Linked DNA regions of Homo sapiens: regions 1, 2, 4 and 5 are each linked to region 3. The links are contacts of gene promoters, found by promoter capture Hi-C in human tissues and cell types (Jung and others, 2019). All regions are on one chromosome and are shown on one strand. Each heading gives the region's core, a stretch centred on a gene start or on the middle of the fragment in contact. The rest is flanking DNA. Distances are from core to core; before and after follow the strand shown.

What was found. The method cuts DNA at HindIII sites, captures the fragments that hold promoters and counts their contacts. A contact is called where the count stands out against the background at its distance.
Region 1: a fragment that was not itself captured here is called in contact with the fragment with the promoter of L1TD1 in region 3 in 1 of the 25 tissues and cell types used here (aorta).
Region 2: a fragment that was not itself captured here is called in contact with the fragment with the promoter of L1TD1 in region 3 in 1 of the 25 tissues and cell types used here (bladder).
Region 4: a contact is called between a fragment that was not itself captured here and the fragment with the promoter of L1TD1 in region 3, in 4 of the 25 tissues and cell types used here (dorsolateral prefrontal cortex, mesendoderm cells, pancreas and 1 more).
Region 5: a contact is called between a fragment that was not itself captured here and the fragment with the promoter of L1TD1 in region 3, in 1 of the 25 tissues and cell types used here (liver).

The regions. Positions count from the first base shown.
Region 1 is chr1:62,440,455-62,443,154 of GRCh38, forward strand. USP1 (ubiquitin specific peptidase 1) reads left to right here. Exons shown (of 9, transcript NM_003368.5): 3 at 1,034-1,154; 4 at 1,741-1,845. Among named protein-coding and RNA genes, the nearest start is that of USP1, 4.8 kb to the left of the region's middle. The HindIII fragment of the contact is 4,518 bases long and covers 1-2,700 here.
Region 2 is chr1:62,421,048-62,423,747 of GRCh38, forward strand. No RefSeq gene overlaps it. Among named protein-coding and RNA genes, the nearest start is that of USP1, 15 kb to the right of the region's middle. The HindIII fragment of the contact is 9,030 bases long and covers 1-2,700 here.
Region 3 is chr1:62,193,225-62,196,098 of GRCh38, forward strand. It overlaps L1TD1 (LINE1 type transposase domain containing 1), which reads left to right and starts at 1,625. Exons shown (of 4, transcript NM_019079.5): 1 at 1,625-1,697. RefSeq lists enhancers at 768-1,624, 1,625-2,480. The HindIII fragment of the contact is 18,338 bases long and covers 1-2,874 here.
Region 4 is chr1:62,353,429-62,356,128 of GRCh38, forward strand. No RefSeq gene overlaps it. Among named protein-coding and RNA genes, the nearest start is that of KANK4, 35 kb to the left of the region's middle. The HindIII fragment of the contact is 4,856 bases long and covers 1-2,700 here.
Region 5 is chr1:62,374,161-62,376,972 of GRCh38, forward strand. No RefSeq gene overlaps it. Among named protein-coding and RNA genes, the nearest start is that of KANK4, 56 kb to the left of the region's middle. The HindIII fragment of the contact is 3,050 bases long and covers 1-2,812 here.

The DNA of each region.
Region 1 (2,700 bases), core at 65-2,564, 250 kb after region 3:
TGGAGGCATATGATTGCAAATTATAAAAATAAACTTTAAGTAATGCTTTTGATGCAAATAAATTATTTAGCTACAGAAAATAAATCAGAACAAAGTGGAATACTTTATTCCACCACCAGCAGCTCTAGCTGGAGTCTGTACTACTCCCTGTTTAACATATAGGCACTCTGCTGGGTGACTAAGGTGGATTTGGTCCCATGTGTTAATTTCCTAATAGCTATCAATAACCAGTTGAGGAGATTTGTGAGAGTGAAGCTTTTGTTTATCAGCATTCATACTTCTGAATACTTTGAGGTGCTAGAGTAATAATAGCTAGCAATCGTAAAATAAATGAAAATATTGGAAGGACCTAGTGGTTTTTTTGTTGTTGTTGTTAAAGAAGTAAAAGAATAGTAAACTTAAAGCATTTGTGTTTTGAGATGGGGTCTCCTTGTGTTGCCCAGGCTGGTCTTGAATTCCTGGGCTCGAGCAGTCCTCCCAAGTAGCTGGAATTACATGTCAATGCCCCCACACCCACATTCTGAACATTTTATTTTTAAGTGAGGGATAGCTACATATTTTTTTTTTTTTTACCAGCAGGAAGTCATATATAATTCTCTTCACAGACTTTCTTTCCTCTGAATTCTTATTAATAGAATCTTACTTAGTGCAGCCTCTCCCAAATATTGTCATGGTTAGTTTATTCCCAGGTTTCTGTTCAGTTAAACTATTTGATTAAAATGTCAAAGTAGATGAAACAAATCATAGTCTCTCAGTTCCTCAATTTTCTACTCTGTAAAATAGGATTAACATCCTTTTAAGGGAATTGTTCTGTGGCTTGTTATGTGTAATAATGTTTTTAAATGCTTTTAAAACTTTTATTCTGGGCATATAGCAATTTTTGAGCCTGTATTTCTTAAAATGTCATCTGAACAAGATTCACATACTTTTCAGATTATACAACTTTTGGGAAAAGACTAAATCTACAGAAGTAATATTTTCACCTTGTTTCTTTAAGATAACTACTTATCGTTCTCCCTTCTATATTTCATAGTGATCAAGTTGTTCCTGCAGCACAGTCTTCACCTATAAACTGTGAGAAGAGAGAAAACTTGTTACCATTTGTGGGACTGAATAATCTCGGCAATACTTGCTATCTTAATAGTATACTTCAGGTAAATTGACAATTTTGCTATATCATAAAGCTTTAGTAGGCAAAGATTGATGTAGCATTTAATGTTTTTGAGTTATTGGAGGACTTTAATGTCCATACTGTCTTTGCCTTTGATTGTTAATAAACCAGAATAGGCTAAAATAATAAGTTACATGTTATTAAACTTCCTTTGGGGTAAGAGAAAATGATAGACTAAATAAAGGTGGGATAGCAAAATTGAGTAGACCTTAAGTGGAAGGTCAAACCTTTAATTTCTTTCTCTGATTCCTGGTGCTACAGTGTGATATATGTCTTATCCCTTGGAAGTAACGTTGGCATTGTGTTGTGTGTCCGTTGGCGCTGTGTTGTGTGTCCTTGTAACCTTAAAGTCTTAGCAATATCTGCCCAGGTGCAGTGCTTTGTGCTAATGAGGGAAGACACTGGGCTACTACTGATGAAGTGGAGAACAAATTTTGACACAAAACTTAATCTCAGAATTTTAGGGTAATACATGTTAAAAGTGCTCTATAGAAAGCATGATGTTGTTTTAATGATTTTACGTGTATTGTTTGTTCAGTAAACACTTAAGACAATCTCACTTTTTATAGGTATTATATTTTTGTCCCGGTTTTAAATCTGGAGTAAAGCACTTATTTAATATTATTTCAAGGAAGAAAGAAGCTCTAAAGGATGAAGCCAATCAAAAAGACAAGGTAAGAAAAATAAAGAACAGAAAATAATGTAAAAAGCAAAAGTAAATTAATGGAAATTTACTTGCCTGGAAATGAAGAGGACTGGGGGGGTGGATGACAAAGATTATTTCTCTGTTAGCGAGCTATTGTCAGGCAATTATTTTTCATTCTTTCAAGGTGGCTAACTAGATAATTCCCTTTTACAATGTTTGCTCCTGTAATCTGTGTATCAAACTTTTGTTACTTGTATACTATATATTACTGTATACTATAATCACAATATGTTATACCCATGTACAACTTATTTACCCATTGTGTTTTCAAATTGAGTTAAAATTTAAATACAGTGTATTTAAAGAAATCTTTAACTTCCATAATTAAAAAACCATTGTAATTCACATAAATAGTAATTCATAATTCCTCTTAAAATTACAAAAAAGACCAGACGTGGTGGCTCATGCCTGTAATCCCAGCAGTTTGGGAGGTCAAGGTGGGTGGTGGATTGCTTGAGCGCAAGAGTTTGAGACCAGCCTGGGTAACATGGCAAGACCCTGTCTTTACTAAAAATACAAAAACTAGTAGGGCGTCATGGTGTGAGCCTGTAGTTCCAGCTAATTGGGAGGCTGAGGTGGAGGATTGCTTGAGCCCAGGAGGTTGAGGCTCCAGTGAGCCGCGATCAAGCCACTGCACTCCAGCCTGGGCGACAGAGACCCTGTCTCAAAATAAAAAAATAAAAAATAAGGCTTATTTGTACATCCCTTAAAATTAGTGCTATTATGCAACTTAGAAAATCTAGTATTCTTAAGTGAGACAAAGACAAAGGGGGAAGGTACTTAATTTGTTCATAAAATTATTGGTTTGTGTGTTTCTTTCTTG
Region 2 (2,700 bases), core at 46-2,545, 230 kb after region 3:
TGAGAAGGTTCCTTCCAAGCAGCCAAATAAAATCCTTATGAAGACATAAATCTTCCATTGATAAAAGGTATGAAACCAAATTATTGTAAAACATCTGTTTGAAAGAATAAATACTGATAATCATGTTTTACATGCAGACCTAAATATATAACTTTTATTGGTATTGTGATAAATCAATAAAGCGAAGATATTATTATGAGTTAAATTGTTTTAACTAATTATTTATCCAGCATACTCAGCATACTCTTACAGAAGAAAAAAATTAACTTACCTGCTCCAAAAAAAAGTGAAAGCATACAGACAGAAAAATTATATTACAGTGTAATAATAAGATGCTTTTACATGGTCCTGTCCACACACATACCTACATATATGATAACACATACACAGTTTCTCCATGCCTAACTCTTCAGTGGGGAAAAAAAGGTGTGAATTTGAATCTTGATACCCAAAGACCAGTTTCTGAATTGAGCATAGGGAGCGATGCCACTCCTTTTCCTTTTATGATAGAAAGAGAAAAATCATATATAGGTTCTGTTTTTGTCTTTGATGCAAATTTTATAATTCCAAGTCTTAGAATTTGTATATTGTGTTTAAATTCAAAGGTAATAAAATATATGGCTGAGTGCAGGGGCTCACACCTGTAATCCCACTGCTTTGGGAGACGAAGGTGGAGGATCATTTGGGGCTGGGAGCTTGATATGAGCCTGGGCAACATAGCAAGACCCCATTTCTACAAAAAAATAAATAAATTAGCCTGGTGTTGTGGTGGACACTTGTAGTCCTAGCTACTTAGGGGGCTGAGGTGGAAGGAGTGCTTCAACTTAGGAGTTTGAAGTTAGTGAGCTATAATGGTACCACTGCACTCCAGCCTGGATGACAGAATGAGACCCTGTCTCTAAAAAAAATAATAATAATAAAGTAAAATAAAATAAAATATATGCTATAACAAATGTAGGAAAATTAACATTTCTTATTGTGGAGATTGTTAGCATTAATGCTAATAAGTTAAAAAGAAAATATATTGGTAAAATTAAGCTTTTCTTTCTTCTTCTTTTTTTGAGATGGAGCCTCTTTCTGTCGCCCAGGCTGGAGTGCAGTGGCATAATCTCGGCTCACTGCAACCTCTGCCTCCCAGGTTCAGGCGATCCTCCTGCCTCAGCCTCCAGAGTAGCTGGGACTACAGGCGCGCACCACCATGCCTGGCTAATTTTTGTATTTTTAGTAGAGATGGGGTTTCACCATATTGGCCAGGCCGGTCTCAAACTCCTGACCTTGTGATCCGCCCACCTCGGCCTCCCAAAGTGCTGGGATTACAGGTGTGAGCCTCCCTGCCCGGCTGGTAAAATTAAGTTTTAAAAATGAACTTTAGGCTGGGTGCAGTGGCTCATGCCTGTAATCCCAGCACTTTGGGAAGCCGAGGAGGGTGGATCACGAGGTCAGGAGTTCGAGACTGGTCTGGCCAATATGGAGAAACCCTGTCTCTAATAAAAATATAAAAATTAGCTGGGTGTGGTGGCACAAGCCTGTAGTCCCAGCTACTCGGGAGGCTGAGGCAGGAGAATTGCTTGAACCTGGGAGGCGGAGGTTGCAGTGAGCCAAGATCGTGTCACTGCACTCCAGCCTGGGCGACAGAGCGAGACTCTGTCTCAAAAAAATAAAAAAATAAAAGTGAACGTTAATATTTTAAATGTGATTTTATGGTTCACATCATCAGGGAAGATGTAGACCTACAAAACATAAAATTGGGAATACAAACATGGTTTATTGTATTCCTTGAAAAGATTCAGATATTTTTCCTAAAGTAGCTAAAATATTTAGTGGCTAATTGAATAATGTTTAAATGTAAGGAATTACATGTACACATGGGATTACATTTGAAATGCAATTCACATACCACTCTCTTATAAATTGGTTCTGAATCACAGATGAAATGTTAAAATATAAACATACAAGGCAGCTGGGTGCGGTGGCTCACGCCTGTAATCCCAGTATTTTGGGAGGCCGAGGCAGGCGGATCACCTGAGGTCAGGAGTTCGAGACCAGCCTGGCCAACACGGTGGAAGCCCGTCTCTACTAAAGACACAAAAATTAGCTGGGCATGGTGGTGGGCGCCTGTAGTCCCAGCTGCTCAGGAGGCTCAGGCAGGAGAATCGCTTGAAGCTGGGATGTGGAGGTTGCAGTGAGCCGAGATTGCACCATTGCACTCCAGCCTGGGGAACAAGAGCGAGACTCTGTCTCAAAAAAAATATATAGCATTTTGCTTAATTTTACTGGGTAGTTTTTAAACTGTGATTTTTTTTCTATGATAATTCTTAATTTTAATATAAATTTTATCATATTTTAATAGTAAATTGCTTTAAAAGTTTCTTAATTTGGCTTTGGGGCTGTAGGTGAAGTAAATACATAAATTTATTCAAAGACTTAAAGGAAATAAATTAGAGTGCAACACTGAATTGCTTTGGTAAAAGATAAAAACAACACTAGGAGGTACATATTTGTATGCAAAAACTATAGTTAAGAGAATATTTAGACCAAATTTCATAAAATTCTATATAAATAGTAGGTCACTGAGCTCAGGAGTTCAAGACCAGCTTAAGTAACATGGTGAAACCCCATTTCTGCAAAAAATAGAAAAATTAGTTGGGCGTGGTGGCATAGGCCGGTTGTCTCAGCTACACGGGAGGCTGAGGCAGAAGG
Region 3 (2,874 bases), core at 375-2,874:
CTGCAAAGGCAGTCTAAATCCCCAGGGTTTGTTTCGGGAAAGGGCTGTTATCATCTTTGTTTTAAACTATGAACAAGTGATCCTCCCACCTCAGCCTCCCAAAGTGCTGGGATTTTAGGCAGTAAGAAGAAATAAGGGATTAAAAGCAAAAGACCGAATTCTCTTTGTTTATTCATATGCTGTGTATTGACTGAACTACCAGATATTGAGGCTTCTTTGCTTATTAGCTGCATGACTTTGGGCAAGTCAAGTTCCACCTGAGCCTTGCAAGTCAGGCCTGGGGAGTCCAACCACCCAGAACCTTTGAGTCTCTGTTAGAGAGCAAGACCCTCTCTTAAGAAACAAAAATAAAACAAAAAAAGAGTATTGGGATATGGGGAGTTTGGCTCCTGTAGAAAGGGTAGTCTGGGAGGCCTGTTAGAGGAGTTAACATTGGACCTGAGACCTGAGGATGAACAGAAGCCATCCTGAAAGAACTGGGAAAATAAAGAGGTGGCCAGGCGTGGTGGCGCACGCCTGTAATCCCATCACTTTGGGAAGCTGAGGTGGGCGGATCACCAGGTCAGAAGTTCAAGACCAGCCTGACCAACATGGTGAAACCCCCCTCTACTAAAAATACAAAAACTAGCCAGGCGTGGTGGCATGGGCCTGTAATCTCAGCTACTCAGGAGGCTGAGGCAGGAGAAATCGCTTGAATCCAGGAGGCAGAGGTTGCAGTGAGCCGAGATTGCGCCACTGCACTCCAGCCTGGGTGACATAAGAAAACTCTGTCTCAAAAAGAAAAAAAAAAAATACAAAAATTTTCCGGGAGTGGTGGCGTGCTCCTGTAATCCCAGCTACTTGGGAGGCTAAGGCAGGAGAATTGCTTGAACCCAGGAGGCCGGGGTTGCAGTGAGCCAAGATCATGCCACTGCACTCCAGCTGTGGCAACAGAGACTGTCTCAAAAAAAAAAAAAAAGAAAGAAAGAAAGAAAGAAAAAGAAAAAAATAACTCGCAGAGGAAACAGCCAGTGCAAGGGCCCTGAGGCAGGTAGTTCCGTGTTTTTTGAGGAACAGAAAGAGAGTGTTTCTGTTGTAAGAGTAGTGCTAAGACAATGTTGAAGGGGCAGTCCGGATAGAATGAGAAGGTAGAAATTTAACCGAAACAGGAAGCCACTGAACAGTATTGGAGGGGGAGAAGGATTACAGAGGGGTCGTGGGAGAGGCCAGGGAGCAGTTGGAGGTGATTTCAGTGATCCAGGTGAGAGACAACGGGGGCTTGGACTGGGCTGGAGCTGTGGAGTTGGAGAGACGCCGGCAAATTCAAGGACTTAGGAATGGATTAACTGCGAGGGTTGAAGAAAAGGAATGAGGTGACCTTGGGGTTCAGGCCTGGGTGATGAGGCGCTTTAGTGGTGCCTTTATTCAGATTTGAGTCTGGAGTCGGGTCTGAGGGGTGGGGCTCGTTCAAGCGGAGGCACGGTGGAGACAGAGGGAATTGGACTCAGTCGGGGGGCAGCAATGGAAGTCAGCAATTGCTTAGGGCGGAATGCGATTTCCGGGGAGGAGGCGCGGGTATGTAGACAGAGGGGGTTGGGACACACCAGGAGGGGAGGAGCCAGCCCCAGAGATCGGGAATCCTCTCAGTCCTTAGTTACAAGGCTCCATCCTCACTTTGTTCGCTCCTCAGTCGTCCAGGCGGATTCCTTTTTCGCCAGGTAAGGCTGGCCCGGGTGCATGGGGCCCGGCGTGCCCTGGGTAAGGCTGGCCCAGGCGCGTGGGGTCCGGGGCGCGCCGGGTAAGGCTGGGCCAGGCGCGTGGGGTCCGGGGTGCCCCGGGTAAGGCTGGTCCAGGGGCGTGGGGTCCGGGGTGCCCCGGGTAAGGCTGGTCTAGGCGCGTGGGGTCCGCAGCGCCCCAAGTAAGGCTGGTCCAGGAGCGTGAGGTCCAGGGTGCCCCGGATAAGGCTGGTCCAGGCGCGAAGGGCGCGGGGTGCCCCGGGTAAGGCTGGCCCAGGTACGTGAGGCCCGAGGTGCCCCAGGCAAGGCTGATCCGGGTGCGTGCGTGGGGCCCGGGTAGGGGCAGGCAGTTGGCCCCCTCACTTGACTCCCTGCTCTTTCCCTTACTGTCCGTGGCGCAATGAGAAAAAAACTCTCCTAAGACTTATCTATCCCCAAATTGGAAACATGAAAGTAGTTCTGTGAAGAAAAAATAAAGTCAAGAAAATGAGGTGGTGCTTGACAAGTCCTAGCTTTAGAAAAAGGATGGAGGGGCCGGGAGCAGTGGCTCACGCCTGTAATCCCAGCACTTTGGGAAGCCGAGGCGGGCGGATCACCTGAGGTCGGAGTTCGAGACCATCCTGACCAACATGGAGAAACCTCGTCTCTACTAAAAATACAAAATTAGCCAGGCGTGGTGGCGCATGCCTGTAATCCTAGCTACTCAGGAGGCTGAGGCAGGAGAATCGCTTGAACCCGAGAGGCAGAGGTTGCACTGAGACGAGATCGCGCCATTGCGCTCCAGACTGGGCAACAGGGGCGAAACTGTCTCAAATAAAAAAAGATGGAGGGCCGGGCGTGTTATTTTCCAGCACTTTGGGAGGCCGAGGCGGGGGCGGATCACGAGGTCAGGAGATCGAGACCATCCTGGCCAACTTGGGAAACCCCGTCTCTACCAAAAATACAAAATTAGCCGGGTGTGTTGGCTCGCGCCTGTAGTCCCAGCTACTAGGGAGGCCGAGGCAGGAGAATCGCTTGAACCGGGGAGGCGGAGGTTGCAGTGAGCCGAGATCGGGCCACTACACTCCAGCCTGGGCGGCAGAGCGAAACTCCGTCTCAAAAAAAAAAAAAAGTGTTTAATTATGTGACTGGAAAAATTGATTTGGAAGTAATAACTTTT
Region 4 (2,700 bases), core at 162-2,661, 160 kb after region 3:
TGACCACCTGACCGGAATTTCAGGGGCTTGGGGGACGGTGGCAATGGGAGTGACAGGAGGAGTACACGAGGTGACTCTGGAGGGGCCAGCAGGCAAGCGGGGAGCCCTGAAAAGTTTTCAAGCAGGAAAGTGGAAGGATCACAACTGTCCTTTAGAAAGATGACAGTGCCAGGTGAAGAGACAATGAATTGGAGGGAAGAGAGGCTGTAGGGAGGGAAAACACTTTCCCTAAATCAGGCAAAAGACTGTGGCAAGGGCAGAGATGGTGGAATGGGGGGGAAAGGGATGGAGCCGAGAGCCGTTTCTGATAACAGGGTTTGTGAACACTGTCCCCCATTTTCCCGTGCACACATCCTCCTGAGTGAAGTTTCAAGTTTGGATGACAAAATAGATGTTGATGCCATTCCTTAAGAGAGGGGACTCAGGAAGTACTAAGTTAAGGGCCAAAAGGACGAATTCCATTTTGGACATTCTCACAGGACAACTGGGAAGATGCCCAGTTTCAGCTGGAAATACAGATCTGAAGCTGAGGAGAGTGGAGTTGAGAGTCCTCAGGGTGTAGGCAGTAATGGGGGCCATGGGGATGGACAAGCAACTCCAGGATAATTGGGGACTGCAGGGTGGCCCACACTGAGCAGTTACAAACTAGCACCTGTTGCAGTGGATAAGACAAAATGTCCGAATATGTGACAGAAATAGTAAGTTATGTTGTCAGGAAGACGAGGGATGACAAACAGCTGGAATTGCTAAAAAAAAAAAAAAAAAAAAAATTCTTCCTGGAGAAGGTGGCTTGAAGAGAAATAGCAGGATGCACAGGATTAGGAGGCAGGAAGGAGGGAGGGGAGGATTTTGGATGGGTTTTGCTGGTGGCGGAGCAGGGAGCGTGGCCACAGGGCACTGAGGGTGCATGCTGCAAAAATACAGCCCCAGGATGGCGCAGCTAGAGAAAGAAACAAGGAATTGATTCAGAATCCACTTTGAGGAAACTGGTCTCCATGGTTGCCTCTGGGGAGAGGAAATGGGAGTCCAGAGGGTAGGCTGAGAAGGAGACATCTCTCTATATCCTTTTGCAACTTCTGGGTATTTTTACCTTGTACACCAATTACCTTTTTTCAGGTTTAAATAAATGGTTTGGGCCTGATGCTGTGGCTTACGCCTGTAATCCCAGCACTTTGGGAGGTGGAGATGGAAAGATATCTTGAGACCAGGAGTTCAAGCCTAGCCTGGGCAACATAGCAAGACCCCATCTCAATTATACTAAAAAATAATAATCATCGTTAAAAAAAAAACAAAACTTTTGGTTTTGGCAGACCAAGCGGTGAGTCTGGTGCCAGAGGAAATCAGGTAGATCCCAAGAGTAAAGGTCAGATTCCTGGCCTTCCTTTCAGGCATGAGAGCAGGACCAGTCTCTGACTGAGGGACCAGCGTTAGTGGCTGTAGCTCTGAGTAATCCTCAAATGGCTTTTTTTTTTTTTTTTTTTTTTTTGAGACGGAGTTTCACTCTTGTTTCCCAGGCTGGAGTGCAATGGCGTGATCTTGGCTCACTGCAACCTCTGCCTCCCAGGGTCAAGCGATTCTCCTGCCTCAACCTCCTGAGTAACTGGGATTACAGGCATGTGCCACCACGCCCGGCTAATTTTACACTTTTAGTAGAGACGGGGCTTCTCCATGTTGGTCAGACTGGTCTCAAACTCACGACTTCAGGTGATCCTCCCGCCTCGGCCTCCCAAAGTGCTGGGATTATAGACGTGGAGTCACCGCGCCCGGCCCAGACAGCTCTTTTACATGAATTTGGTTGAGTAAGTGAATGAGCAATCCAGAGAGCAGATGAGGACAGAATGAGAAGTGGCTGGACACTGGAGCTGGCCAGCTTCCAGGGACATAGAAGTATGCCCCCGAGGTGGACTGATGAGCCAGTGCTGGATCCTAATCTTATGACTTGTGTGACTGGGGCCAGGTGATGTTGCAGGAACAGTGCTGAAACCTCATGTTTTACTGTATTAGTCCATTCTCACATTGCTATAAATAAATACCTGAGACTGGGTAATTCATAAGAAAAGAGGATTAATTGGCTGACAGTTCTTCAGGCTGTACAGGAGGCATAGCAGCATCTGCTATTGGGGAGGCCTCAAGAAGCTTCCAATAACGGGGGAAGGTAAAGGGGTAGCAGGCATATCACATGGTGAAAGCAAGAGCAAGACAGAGCCACAGGGAAGGTGCTATCAGATCTCACAAGAACTCACTCACTATCACAAGGACCACACCCAGGGGATGGTACTAAAACATTCATGTGAAACCTGCCCCCATTATCCAATCACCTCTCACCAGGCCCCACCTCCAACATCAGGGATTACATTTCGATATGAGATTTGGGCGGGGACACATATCCAAACTATATCACTTAGATAGAGTTGTTGTGAGAGTTAAATGAGATCAACATCATGACCATCAAACATTTCTGATGACTTACTATGTGCCTGGCATTGAGCTAATTACTCACATAGTTTAATCCTCACAAAAATCCTATGAGACGATTGCCATTATTATCCCCGTTTTACAAATATAGGAAATAAGGGCCAGGCGAAGTGGCTCACGCCTGTAATCCCAGCACTTTGGGAGGCCGAGGCAGGGAGATCATCTGAGGTCAGGAGTTTGAGACCAGCCTGGCCAACATGGCAAAACCTCGTCTTTACTAAAAAT
Region 5 (2,812 bases), core at 230-2,729, 180 kb after region 3:
GTAATCCCAGCTGCTTGGGAGGCTGAGGCAGGAGAATAACTTGAACCCGGGAGGCAGAGGTTACAGTGAGCCAAGATCACACCATTGCAATCCAGCCTGGGCAACAAGAGCAAAACTCTGTCTCAACAACAACAAAAAAATAATTCTGAGGTCTGACATATGCTATGCCAAGATGAATTTATAGTAGCTCCATTCTATTTCACTTAACTTTTTTTTTTAAATAGAGATGAGGTCTTGATATGTTGCTCAGGCTGGTCTTGAACTCCTGCGCTCAAGTGATCCTACTGCCTCGGCCTCCCAAAGTGCTGGGATTACAGGTGTGAGCCACCATGCCTGGCCTATTCTGCTTCATTTATATATTTCTATATATCTAACCTATAATAGACTATCTTAATGAATCAAGCTTTGTGTCCCTCTTGTGTAACTGACAATGGCATAGGTCAGAGTAGATTTTTGTTTAATATCTATTGTATTTGCTGAATAGTTTTGTATTATCTATTTTGTCTTCGTTTTTTATTTTAAAAGTAAATTTGAGACCATTCTCCACTAAAAGGAGCTAGGGCTCCTGAGAGAATGGCTGATTCCAGGACTGTGCAGAGAAGATTGAGTTTCAGCCTGGATCACCTTCTTATCTCAGGGAGAAAGGGAATGCTCAAAAACAACAGCACGTGTCAAAAGAGCCTGAGGGCCAGCCTAATCTGGGAGAATATGTATATCAAATAAGTAATGATATTAACAGATTATAATTCCAATGACTGAAATAATCATTCAAGTTCATGCTAATATAAAGAAATACATTAACAAGTAAATAGGAGAAAAAGAGAACAGCTTTCCTAGAAGGGAATGCCAACTAAGAAATGCAGAATGAATGATAGAGTAGACATTCACTAACTGGCAAGTATCATAGTAATAATTTAAGCAAGAATTATCAATGGATGCGAAAGTTATGGGTGAAAATTTGATAAGGAACAGGATATTTGCATGATCTCAAAGTATTTCCTCACAAAATACTTACTAATTATAAAGAAGAAAATTGTAGCTTTACAGTGGAGAAATCTGGGAGACACCAGCTTGTCCCAGTGATCCAGGTTAGTATCACCAGCAATGGAACAGACTAACATATGTGACTTTTTTTTTTTTTTTTTTTTTTGAGACAGGGGTGGTTCAATCACAGCTTACTGCAGCCTCCACCTCCTGGGATCAGATGATTCTTCCACCGTAGCCTTCTGAGTAGCTGGGACTACAGGTGCGTGCCACCACACCTGGCTAACTTTTGTATTTTTTTGTAGAGACAGGGTTTCACCGTGTTGCCCAGGCTAGTCTCAAACTCCTGAACTCAAGCCATTCACCCACCTTAGTCTCCCAAATTTCTGGGATTACAGGCGTGAGCCACTGCACCCAGCCCATACGTGACTCTTGATATGGTGCAATGCAAAACACACAGCATCACTTTCCTGGTAATCCTGCCAAAGACACAAAATCTGAACTTAATCACAAAGGAACATCAAATATACCTGAATTGAAAGACATCCTACAAAATAATTGGCCTCTACTTTTCAAAAATGTCAAGGTCATGGAGGACTAAGAAAGACTGAAGAACCATTACGGATTGAAGAAGACTAAAGAGATTACATGCTGATTAAGAGCAATAATTTTAAATAATATTTTAAATAATTTTAAAATATCTAATCCAGGATTACATGTTGCATTTAATCAACATGTAATATTTAAAAATTATTTTTCTATTACTGTGTAGATATTATTAAGGTAACTAGCAAATGTTGAATGAGGTCTATGGATTAGATAATAATATTGCCTTGCTATTAATCTCCTGATTTTGACATCTGTTTGGTGGTTATGTAAGAGAAGGTCTTTGTTCTTAGGAATTACATACTGAAATATTGAGGAGTAAAAGAGCATATGCCTGCAACTTACTCTCATACATATAAAAGCAAATGTGGCAAATGTTAAACTTTGGGGAATTCGAACAAAGAGTATCCAGTAGTTCTTGGTATAACTTTTAAAACTTTTTTCTAAGTTTGAAATTATTTCAAAATAAAAAATTATTTACAAAAATAGTGCATTTTCTTTCCTACCATAATATCTATATTTTAAATGTGAGCCTTAGCTTTTTTTTTTTTTTAAATCACTCTTTGGGACCTCAATAGTGTTTATTCAATGTATATTTTTGGCATCTAAGTGCTAGAGTCTAGGGATGTAGAGGTGAACTAGAAAAAATTTAGCCTTGTCCACATGAAGTTTATAATCTAGTGGGGAAATCAACTATTGCACAAATAATTATGTAAGTGTAGTGATTATGTGATTCATTTCTGCAGCAACATATACACTTCACAAAGTCTTGCATATGGGCAAACATTATTATATTCCTTCCTTATGAAAATATGAACTCGATCTCACCTTTTTTTTTTTCTGAAGGTCCTCTCTGTCTCACAATGACACTACAACCCCAGGAAGCCATTAAGAGTCCACCCAACTGATTCCTTCTTTCACTGTGTGTTTCTGTTGGAGGGATGAGCATTAAAGAGGGAAACGGTGGTGGTTGTTCTTTTGAAAGCTAAAAAACTTTCCATCTTGAAAAGCGTTAAAGTCTGCTGCAGAAGCAGGGCACTTTTTCAAACCTCCTGTTCATTACAGAGATACACATCTAAGGAACTTTGGGCCATGTTGTGGGGTGACTTTTGAAATTCAAACAAAAGAGAGTTTGTTACAGAGCTCGAAAAGGCAGTTCTGAAAGCTTCATTAATTCTAATAATAACTTCCAATTAATTCATTCGTCACATCCTGATTTTCT